2 separate regions of the Homo sapiens genome follow, and region 1 is linked to region 2. Evidence: promoter capture Hi-C in 16 types of primary human blood cells and fetal thymus (Javierre and others, 2016). All regions are on one chromosome and are shown on one strand. Each heading gives the region's core, a stretch centred on a gene start or on the middle of the fragment in contact. The rest is flanking DNA. Distances are from core to core; before and after follow the strand shown.

The links. The method cuts DNA at HindIII sites, captures the fragments that hold promoters and counts their contacts. A CHiCAGO score of 5 or more calls a contact.
Region 1: a contact is called between a fragment that was not itself captured here and the fragment with the promoter of ODF1 in region 2, in 1 of 17 cell types (M1 macrophages). The highest score is 5.3, in M1 macrophages.

Annotation. Positions count from the first base shown.
Region 1 is chr8:102,453,994-102,458,434 of GRCh38, forward strand. All of the region lies in intron 2 of LOC105375683 (a long non-coding RNA gene), which reads left to right. Among named protein-coding and RNA genes, the nearest start is that of UBR5, 44 kb to the left of the region's middle. The HindIII fragment of the contact is 2,177 bases long and covers 818-2,994 here.
Region 2 is chr8:102,549,625-102,553,696 of GRCh38, forward strand. ODF1 (outer dense fiber of sperm tails 1) reads left to right here and starts at 1,965. Exons shown (of 2, transcript NM_024410.4): 1 at 1,965-2,423. The coding sequence starts at 2,104. It overlaps LOC124901998 (a long non-coding RNA gene), which reads left to right. Exons shown (of 3, transcript XR_007061039.1): 2 at 74-185; 3 at 883-972. LOC105375684 (a long non-coding RNA gene) reads right to left here and starts at 1,004. Exons shown (of 2, transcript XR_928478.3): 1 at 919-1,004. The HindIII fragment of the contact is 343 bases long and covers 1,630-1,972 here.

The DNA of each region.
Region 1 (4,441 bases), core at 656-3,155, 96 kb before region 2:
CTGGGGGACAGAGTGAGACTCTGTCTCAAAAAAAAAAAAAAGGGAAAAAAAAAAAAAGAGAGCGTCTTATTGATGATGAAGACATGGCCAAGACTAGCTCTCCAGGGTTATATAATTATTTGCTGGAAATCAGAGTCAATATGAATAAGGCACAAAATTATGCCCAAGATACTGCTGCTAACATGAGTGAAAAGTTAACAGAGTGTTGTAGTCAAGTGTATGTAAGAAAAGTCAAGACTGTTATTCTATGTGGTCTTGTCACACTCATCCTCTAAATTAGTCATATGAGGTCTAGAAGGAAATGAAAGAACATTACAATTTTCTAGTTTCAATTTTTTATATTCTACTTCTCCTGTACCTGTGAAGATACTGACAGTATAAAATAGTTTATAAGCCTGGGCAATTTGGTGAAACCCCATCTCTACAAAACCTTAAAAATAATTAGCTGGGGTGGTGGTGCACACCTGTAGTCCCAGATACTCAAGAGGCTGAGGCAGGATAGCTTGAGCCTGGAAGGTGGAGGTTGCAGTCAGCTGAGATCGCACCACTGCACTCCAGACTGGGCAGCAGAGCAAGACTCTGTCTCAAAAAATAGAATAGAATAGAATAGAATAGAATAGAATAGAATAGAATAGAATAGAATAGAATAGAATAGAATAGAATAATAGAACAGAATAGAATAGGTTTATAAATGTAGTTGAAAGTGTAACATGCTAGAAGATGTGTAATTCTTTCTAAACCTATAGAATTGGTCATCATAGTTCATTATATAGTTCACTACTGTGGAGAACTTCTAGAGATTATTCAAAGACTCCCAAGCTTTTGCAATCAGCTCTTTAATCACACAGGTAACTAGTGAATTGAGCAGTTTGCTGGAATAGATTTTCAAATTTTACTTTCTGCTTGCTTAAACTGTCTTTATCACATGAAAAGTAAGTATGTGGTTTGATAATACACAATTGTTACTGTTGCTACTTAAAGATTTCTAAAATAGTTTACCATTGATGAAAATGAAATAAAGTATACTCTATTATTTTGAATAAAAATGTCTGCCTTTGCTTTTGTTGGGTCTAGCTTAATTTTAAAAATGTTGAAAAAAAAAGAAAGTACACTATGACTAAATTTTAATGCCCTGTGATCTTTCATTGCTAATGCAATTGGATACCAGCTCTCGGTGCTTCTAATGAGGGAAGATTGTGCCAATGAGAACCTGACTCCAACAAAGCTGAAAAAACAGCTGACATCTCCATATCCTGAAATATATCTCAGACAGTGTGGATTCATGAGAAGGATCCTGTCTGGGGAAGACTAGAATCTTGTCAAATGGATTCATCCCCAAATCAAGAACCTTATTTGGAAGCATCTTATAAGTTTTTTTTTTTTTTTTTTTTTTTTTTTTGAGAAGAGTTTTGCTCTTGTCACTCAGGCTGGAGTGCAATAGCATGATCTCGGCTCAGTGCAACCTCCACCTCCGGGGTTCAAGCAATTCTCCTGCCTCAGCCTCCTGAGCAGCTGGGATTACAGGCACACGCCACCACGCCCCACTAATTTTGTATTTTTAGTAGAGGCCAGATTTTGCCATGTTGGCCAGGCTAGTCTCAAACTCCTGACCTCAGGTGATCCACCCACCTCGGCCTCCCAAAGTGCTGGGATTACAGGCATGAGCCACCGTGCCCGGCCACATCTTATAAGATGTCTTATCCCATTACCAAGCCAAACAATATCTGTGTGATTGGAGAGATGTTGGTGAAGGCACATGTCTTGAAATTGGTCTCTTTGAGGGCTTGAAGCTGAGGCGGCAGAATATTTCCATTGGTGTCACCCACTCCAAAATGTGTAATATTCCTTTCTTATACTTTATATGTATAATATCTCTTATGTTTTAAAGCAGATCTTTGAATAATTGAAAGTGATACTCTTTCTCTGCAGCACGGAAAAGAACAAAACTACAAACATTTGTTTGTGGCTTTCTGGGTCTTGTGCATTATTTGCATACTGACCAATGCCCTCTAAATAAAAACAAAAATGAAAACAAAAACCATATTTCGTGAGACCATTTTGGAAAATATAGATTCTACTAACCTCTTCAAAACTGTGAAAAGCCTTTGCCAAGTACACATTGATGGAAAGAAAACTCCGGCTCGGGTCCTAGGAGGGACCCCTTTGAGGTGTGGCAGCCCATCCAGTCATACTGCCTTTTATTTTTTTATTTTTATTTTATTTATTTATTTTTTGAGACAAAGCCTAGCTCCGTCACCCAGGCTGGAGTGTAGTGGCGTGATCTCAGCTCACTGCAACCTCTGCCTCACAGGTTCAAGTGATTCTCCTGCCTCAGCCTCCCGAGTAGCTGGGATTACAGGCATGTGCCACCATGCCCGGCTAATTTTTTTTTGTATTTTTATTAGAGACAGAGTTTCACCATGTTGGCCAGGCTGGTCTTGAACTACTGGCCTCAAGTGATCCACCTGCCTCAGCCTTTCAAAGTGCTGGGATTACAGGTGTGAGCCACTGTGCCCAACCCCACACTGCCTTTTAGAGGAAAGCAGCTCTGCATGTTGGCCGGCATGCATTGGTGTCAAAGACCCTGTCAACAGCCTCAACCACATTGTCTACTGCTGTGGATATCTTCAACTTCCTGCAAGCCAGATCCTCGAATCACCATCTTTTCAAGAGGGTTTGTCAAATAATAGTAGCACAATATCATCAACTAGAGTAAGACAGGGTGATGAAGTCCTTATTGAACTTGAAGAGAAGCTCGTGTGTGTACTTAAGAAAAAAAAAGAAATGCCAGTTTTCCAAACAATTCTACTGGGAGGAATTCACTTACTGCTTGGTTTGTTAGGCAGATAGTTTGGTTGTACTGAAAGAAGAAAATCTTCCAGTTCAGGTCCTGGAATCACAAACATATTTCTGGTGCAGAAACAAAAACAAAAACAGAACTACAAGCTCTTTTGGCTAAGCCTATATACTTGGAAGAATAACTTGGAAGGACAAAGCTTCAGACTTTTCATCACTGAAGCAGATTCTTCTGCAGGCTGGAATTGAGTGTGACAAAGACACTTTCTCGATTTCTCTGCAGTCAGGAAACTGTGGTAACCGGAAAACCCTCAGAATACTTTGGAGTGTTACTTCTGTTTCAACAGTCTTCAAGTGGAAAGTGAATCCCTAATCCCTTCCCTGTTGACAAAGACAGCAGTAACAAGGCCAGTACTGCCAAAAATGACTTCATTGACTTGAGAACAAAGGAAATGAAATAACAGGAATTGAACTCAAAGAGTTGTAGAGGATCCTGGTGTTCTAATTTTTTTTTTTTTTTTTTTGAGATGGAGTCTCGCTCTGTGTCACCCAGGTTGGAGTGCGTGGTGCCATCTCGGCTTACTGCAACCTCCACCTCCCAGGTTCAAGCAATTCTCCCACTTCAGCCTCCTGAGTATCCGGGATTACAGGTGCCCATCACCACGCCCTGCTAAATTTTGTATTTTTTAGTAGAGATGGGTTTTCGCCATGTTGGCCAGGCTGGTCTTGAACTTCTGACCTCAGGTGATCTGCTTGCCTCGGCCTCTCAAAGTGCTGGGATTACAGGCGTGAGCCACCATGCCCAACCGATCCTGGTGTTCTTGATCCGAGCCCATCCTCAACTGGTCACCGGACCACAGATTCCATTTACTAACACAAACCTTTATGAGGCAGGGTTTCAACACTCATTTCCATCAAAGCAAGACTTAAAGTCAATTCTATGGTAATGAACATATTTGTCTTTTTTTTTTAAAAGATCACACACTTATTAAACCAAAGGGGCAGCATTGTTTTTGTTGAAATTACTTTTGAGCAGAATTAAAATTTACTTTTTGTTTTATTTTTCTCTATGTGCACAACTTGTATTTATTTTAATTTTAATTAAACATTAAAATTAATGTATTTTATTTACATTCATTTAATTTTTAAATTTATTTTAATTTTCAAGAAGTGGTCATTAGTTTTTGCTTGAAAAACCAAATCAGAAAAGCAAAACTTTTTAAATAATTTTCTAAGAGAAGGAAAAACATTTCCAAGGCAATACAGTTAATCATATGCAAAGTTTTATGTATGTATTTATATGCGTTTTTCTGGGAGCAAAGTCTATCGCTTTCATTAGACTCTCAGTGTGGTTCACAACTCAAGAAATGTTTTGAACCATCGGCATAATTGGAAATTACATCTTAGTTTTCATAATGTAAGTAAGAATCAAGATTGATTTTTGGAAATCTTTGGGTGGGAACACATGCACCCATTGATATCTACTTTCACCAATACTAAACATCTTTCATTTCCTCTCCTACCATCTAGGTTTTAGTACGTTTGATTTTGTTTTTTATTAGTGATTAGGGAATTTAAGCCCATTTTGTTTAGATGATCTTAGGTTGCTTTCATCTTTTTTAATTTAAATGAGTGAGTAGCAGTA
Region 2 (4,072 bases), core at 715-3,214:
AAAGTTGTCACCAGCACCACCTGTTCACCAAATCCCCAAACTTACTCTTCTCCCTGTGTTATTTTTATCTCAGTGGCACCAAGAGTCTGCCAAGCTTGAAAGCTGGAAGTCACCACTGATTCCTCCCTCACTCCATCCTCACTCTGTTCACTAAATCCTGTTGAATTCACCCAGATGGTCATTCAGTGAGTACATTTCAAGCACCTGCTATGTGCCAGGCATTGTGTTAGGTATCTACTGCGAAGCAAAAATAGACAAGGTCCTTGCCCTCGTGGCTTACAGTCCAGCTGGGGAAACAATATCATGAAGGAAATGTATCCTAAGTTAAGAGAGTGTTTAGTCTGGGAGACAGAGAAGGCTTCCCCAAGAAAGGGGGAGATCTAAAGGGTGCCTTAAGAATTAAATGGATGAAAGTCATAGGTGGGGAGTTCAATTTCTAAGCAGGCAGAACGTCCTGTGTATGAGCTCTGAATGAGGTGGAAGGAATGAGGAATGTCCTTCAAGGGACTAAGGAACGGCCTCTGGAAAGTGAGTGGTCTTCCAGGAAGGCCATCGTGGCTGAGGGGTAATGAATTGCAATAATACTAGGATGGGAGAGGAGAGTGGGGAAGTGGGAGAGGCCCCATTGCTCAGCACCTGGTAAAGATTTTGGTCCTTTTTTTGAGAGGACAGAGAAGACTTTTAAGGTGAGTGGGATGATGGGTGGGGAAGGTTGAGGAATGACAGATTTCTATATGAAAGTCGCTGTGGCTACAATGTGGAAAATGGATTAGATGGGGCCTGGGCAGAGGTGGGGGAAGGCTTTCCCATTGGCTTCCTCCTTGCCATCCCCATAGCCATGATCCCCAGTCCAGATTTTTGTTGTCTCTTCTTGTCTTGCAGCAGAAAACCCCACTACTATTGTCCCTAGCAACTTACCTTCAGTGTGGCTGTCTCACTTCTGACAAAAGAAAAGAAAATCAACAATCCTTCGTTGGGCTCAAAATAAAGTTCAGAGTCCTTAGTCTGGCTACAGGTCCCTTCAAACCTGGCCCTTGTCTCCCTCACCAGTGTCACATCCAACCACTTGTCATCAATACCTGAGCTCTAGTTCATACAAGGGAGACTCGAGAGCTGGACCGCAGTTTGAGGTGAAAGGACCAGAGGAGTAGAGGCACCGAGAGCCAAATCTGAGGCCGAATCAGAGGTCTAGGATGTTAACTGAACAGAAAGTAAAGGAAACTGGCCGAAGCGGGGGTTTCAGGCAGTTGGCTTCCAGCATCTTCAGGCGGTTGGCTACAAGAACATCAAAGACCAACATTTGGGAAGCACTCAGGGACAAGACATCCGGAGGCTTGGATGCAAGACCAAAGGTGTAGTTGATGGGAGGTAGTTCCCCAGGACAGGCCCCCGAGGACTGACAGATGGGAGCTTAAGGACAGGACCCCCAACCAGTAGAGAAATGAGGTTCCCGAACAGCCATGACCACAGCTGGCGCAGAATGGGCAGGACTCAGAGACTTGTAACTCAGAAGGTCAAGGACAATGGCTGACTTGAGGATGACTTGGTAGGAGGAGAATGATGAGAACATTCTTTATATTCTACCTGTCTGGAGACAGAATGAATTCTAGAACAAAAGGAGCAAGGCCAAGCTTCCAATCAAGGCTAGAGCTAGAAGGTCATGGAGAAAGGCGTGGGCAGCTCCTGCCTTCGCCTGCACCAAGTTCAACAAACACACAGTCATAGCCATGGCTGGTCCCCAGAGCACACACAAGGCAAGGATGTTAGTGGCCAGCCCCATGCACCCCGATGAGCTATGCTCGCTTGGGAGACCCATCCTCCTTGAAGGTGAGTGAAATCTCAACACGAGTATGGTTCTGAGAGTAGCTCTGTAACTCTGAGGATGGTCTCTGGAGACCATGACTGTGTACAGTTCACATGGTAACCAGAAGACTATGACATACTTCAGAAGGTGGTGAGGTCATAGAACACAAGCTTTAAAGTAAGTGAATCATGTGTGCCTCATTTATTTTTAAAAGCAACTTCTGAGAAGGGCTTAGAACAAATTTTTTCCCGGAGTGCCATTTCCCAAAGGTACTCACAGAACAATCAGGTGTGACCATAATGGCTGCACTGAGTTGTCTCTTGGACAGTGTCAGAAGGGACATAAAGAAGGTGGACAGAGAACTAAGGCAACTGAGATGCATCGACGAATTTAGCACACGGTGCCTGTGCGACTTGTATATGCACCCCTATTGCTGCTGTGACTTGCACCCATATCCGTACTGCTTGTGCTATTCCAAGCGATCACGCTCTTGCGGCCTGTGTGATCTCTACCCATGTTGCCTGTGTGATTATAAGCTTTACTGTCTGCGACCATCTCTCAGAAGTTTGGAGAGGAAAGCCATCAGAGCCATAGAAGATGAGAAGCGAGAGCTTGCCAAGTAAAATAACTTATTTTTAAATTTTTATAGTCGGTATATTAGCCTTATAAGTTGGAATAAGGAAAAATATGTGACAATCAATAGTTGAACAAAGATTAAAAGGGTTCAGGATAATGACCCTGGTGACTTAGGAAAGATTTAAGGAAAGAAGAGTAAATGAGTCCATGATGGGAATTGTAGGGTTCTCAAAAGACAATGTAATGATGTCGATTGGCAAGGTCGTCGGTGGTTTATAGCAAGAATGCCAGTATGATAAATAATGCGGCTTTAATGAAGGGAAGAAACAGGGGGTGTCATTAAAAAGCCATTGGAAGCAGCAAACTAAACATTTTTCCTGGTTATGAGTAAAGTGATTTGAGTATATTTGGACTTACAGAAATGACTACAGGAGAAGTAATAATAATAGATCAAATCCTTAATGTGTGCCAGAGGCTTTACAAGCAGGAGAGCAAATTGAACAGTAGAGGCATTGCCTTGGTTTTGTGGGAATATCATTCTCCTATCCCCCCACTCCAGGCAAAGACTTACCTTGTATCTGGAATTAGGTCTATCATGTTGGCCTCCCCTCTAACTCTAGCAAAGGTCTTGCAAATAAACTATGGCACTGAGTTGTAGCTTTCAGGATAGACTTGAAAGGCTTTTTAATTGAATTGGGTAATTAAAAAGAGTCAGTTTTTTAAAAAAATTTTTGTTTTAGATTATATTTTCTTTTTGCCTGGAGAAAACTTTCCTTTTCTAACTTTTTACATATGCCATTTAGTCTGTTACTGTTGATGAAAAAGATGGTTGAAAGTGCTGTCCCTGGTTAAATAAATAATACATTCATGCACTGGAATAATAAGTAAATATAGAAAGGATTGATGAAGCATCTTACATATTGATGTATTAAGTCAAACAAGCAAAGTGCAGAAAAACTGATAGACAGATGACAGATAGATAGATAGATAGATAGATAGATAGATAGATAGATGATAGATAGATAGAGTCTCTTGACAACAGTGACAGTGATGTTTCTTTGGAAAAAGCAATAGGAGGCCGGGTGCATTGGCTCATGCCAGTAATCCCAGCACTTTGGGAGGCGGAGGCGGGCAGATCACCTGAGCTCAAGAGTTCGAGACCAGCCTGGCTAACATGGTGAAACCCCATCTCTACTAAATACAAAAAAAAAAAAAAAAAAAAATTAGCCAAGCGTAGTGGCACGTGCCTGTAATCCCAGCTACTCGTGAGACTGAGGCAGGAGAATCACTTGAACCCAGGAGGCAGAGGTTGCAGTGAGCCAAGATTGCACCACTACACTCCAGACCGGGTGACAAAGTGAGACTGTCTCAAAAAAAAAAAAAAAAAAAGGATAATTATTGTCTAGGTCACCAGCCACCAATGGTCAGGAATGAACCTCCCTCATAGCCTGGGAGCTTTCACCTGTAAATTCATCTATACTCTTTGAACCAATGTTTGTTTTTATTTCTTAGGGCATCAAGTCACATAAATTGCTCACACTGTGAGGCAGGGACTCTTTTTAAAATATTTGGTCCAAGTTAAGGTTTCCTTGTGAGCAGATCAGTATCCACTCTCCTCCTACTTTTGGATACTTGAATACCCTTGTCCAGGTCTTTCCAGCCTCTGTCTTCCTGGCTTCTCTCCTATCCCCA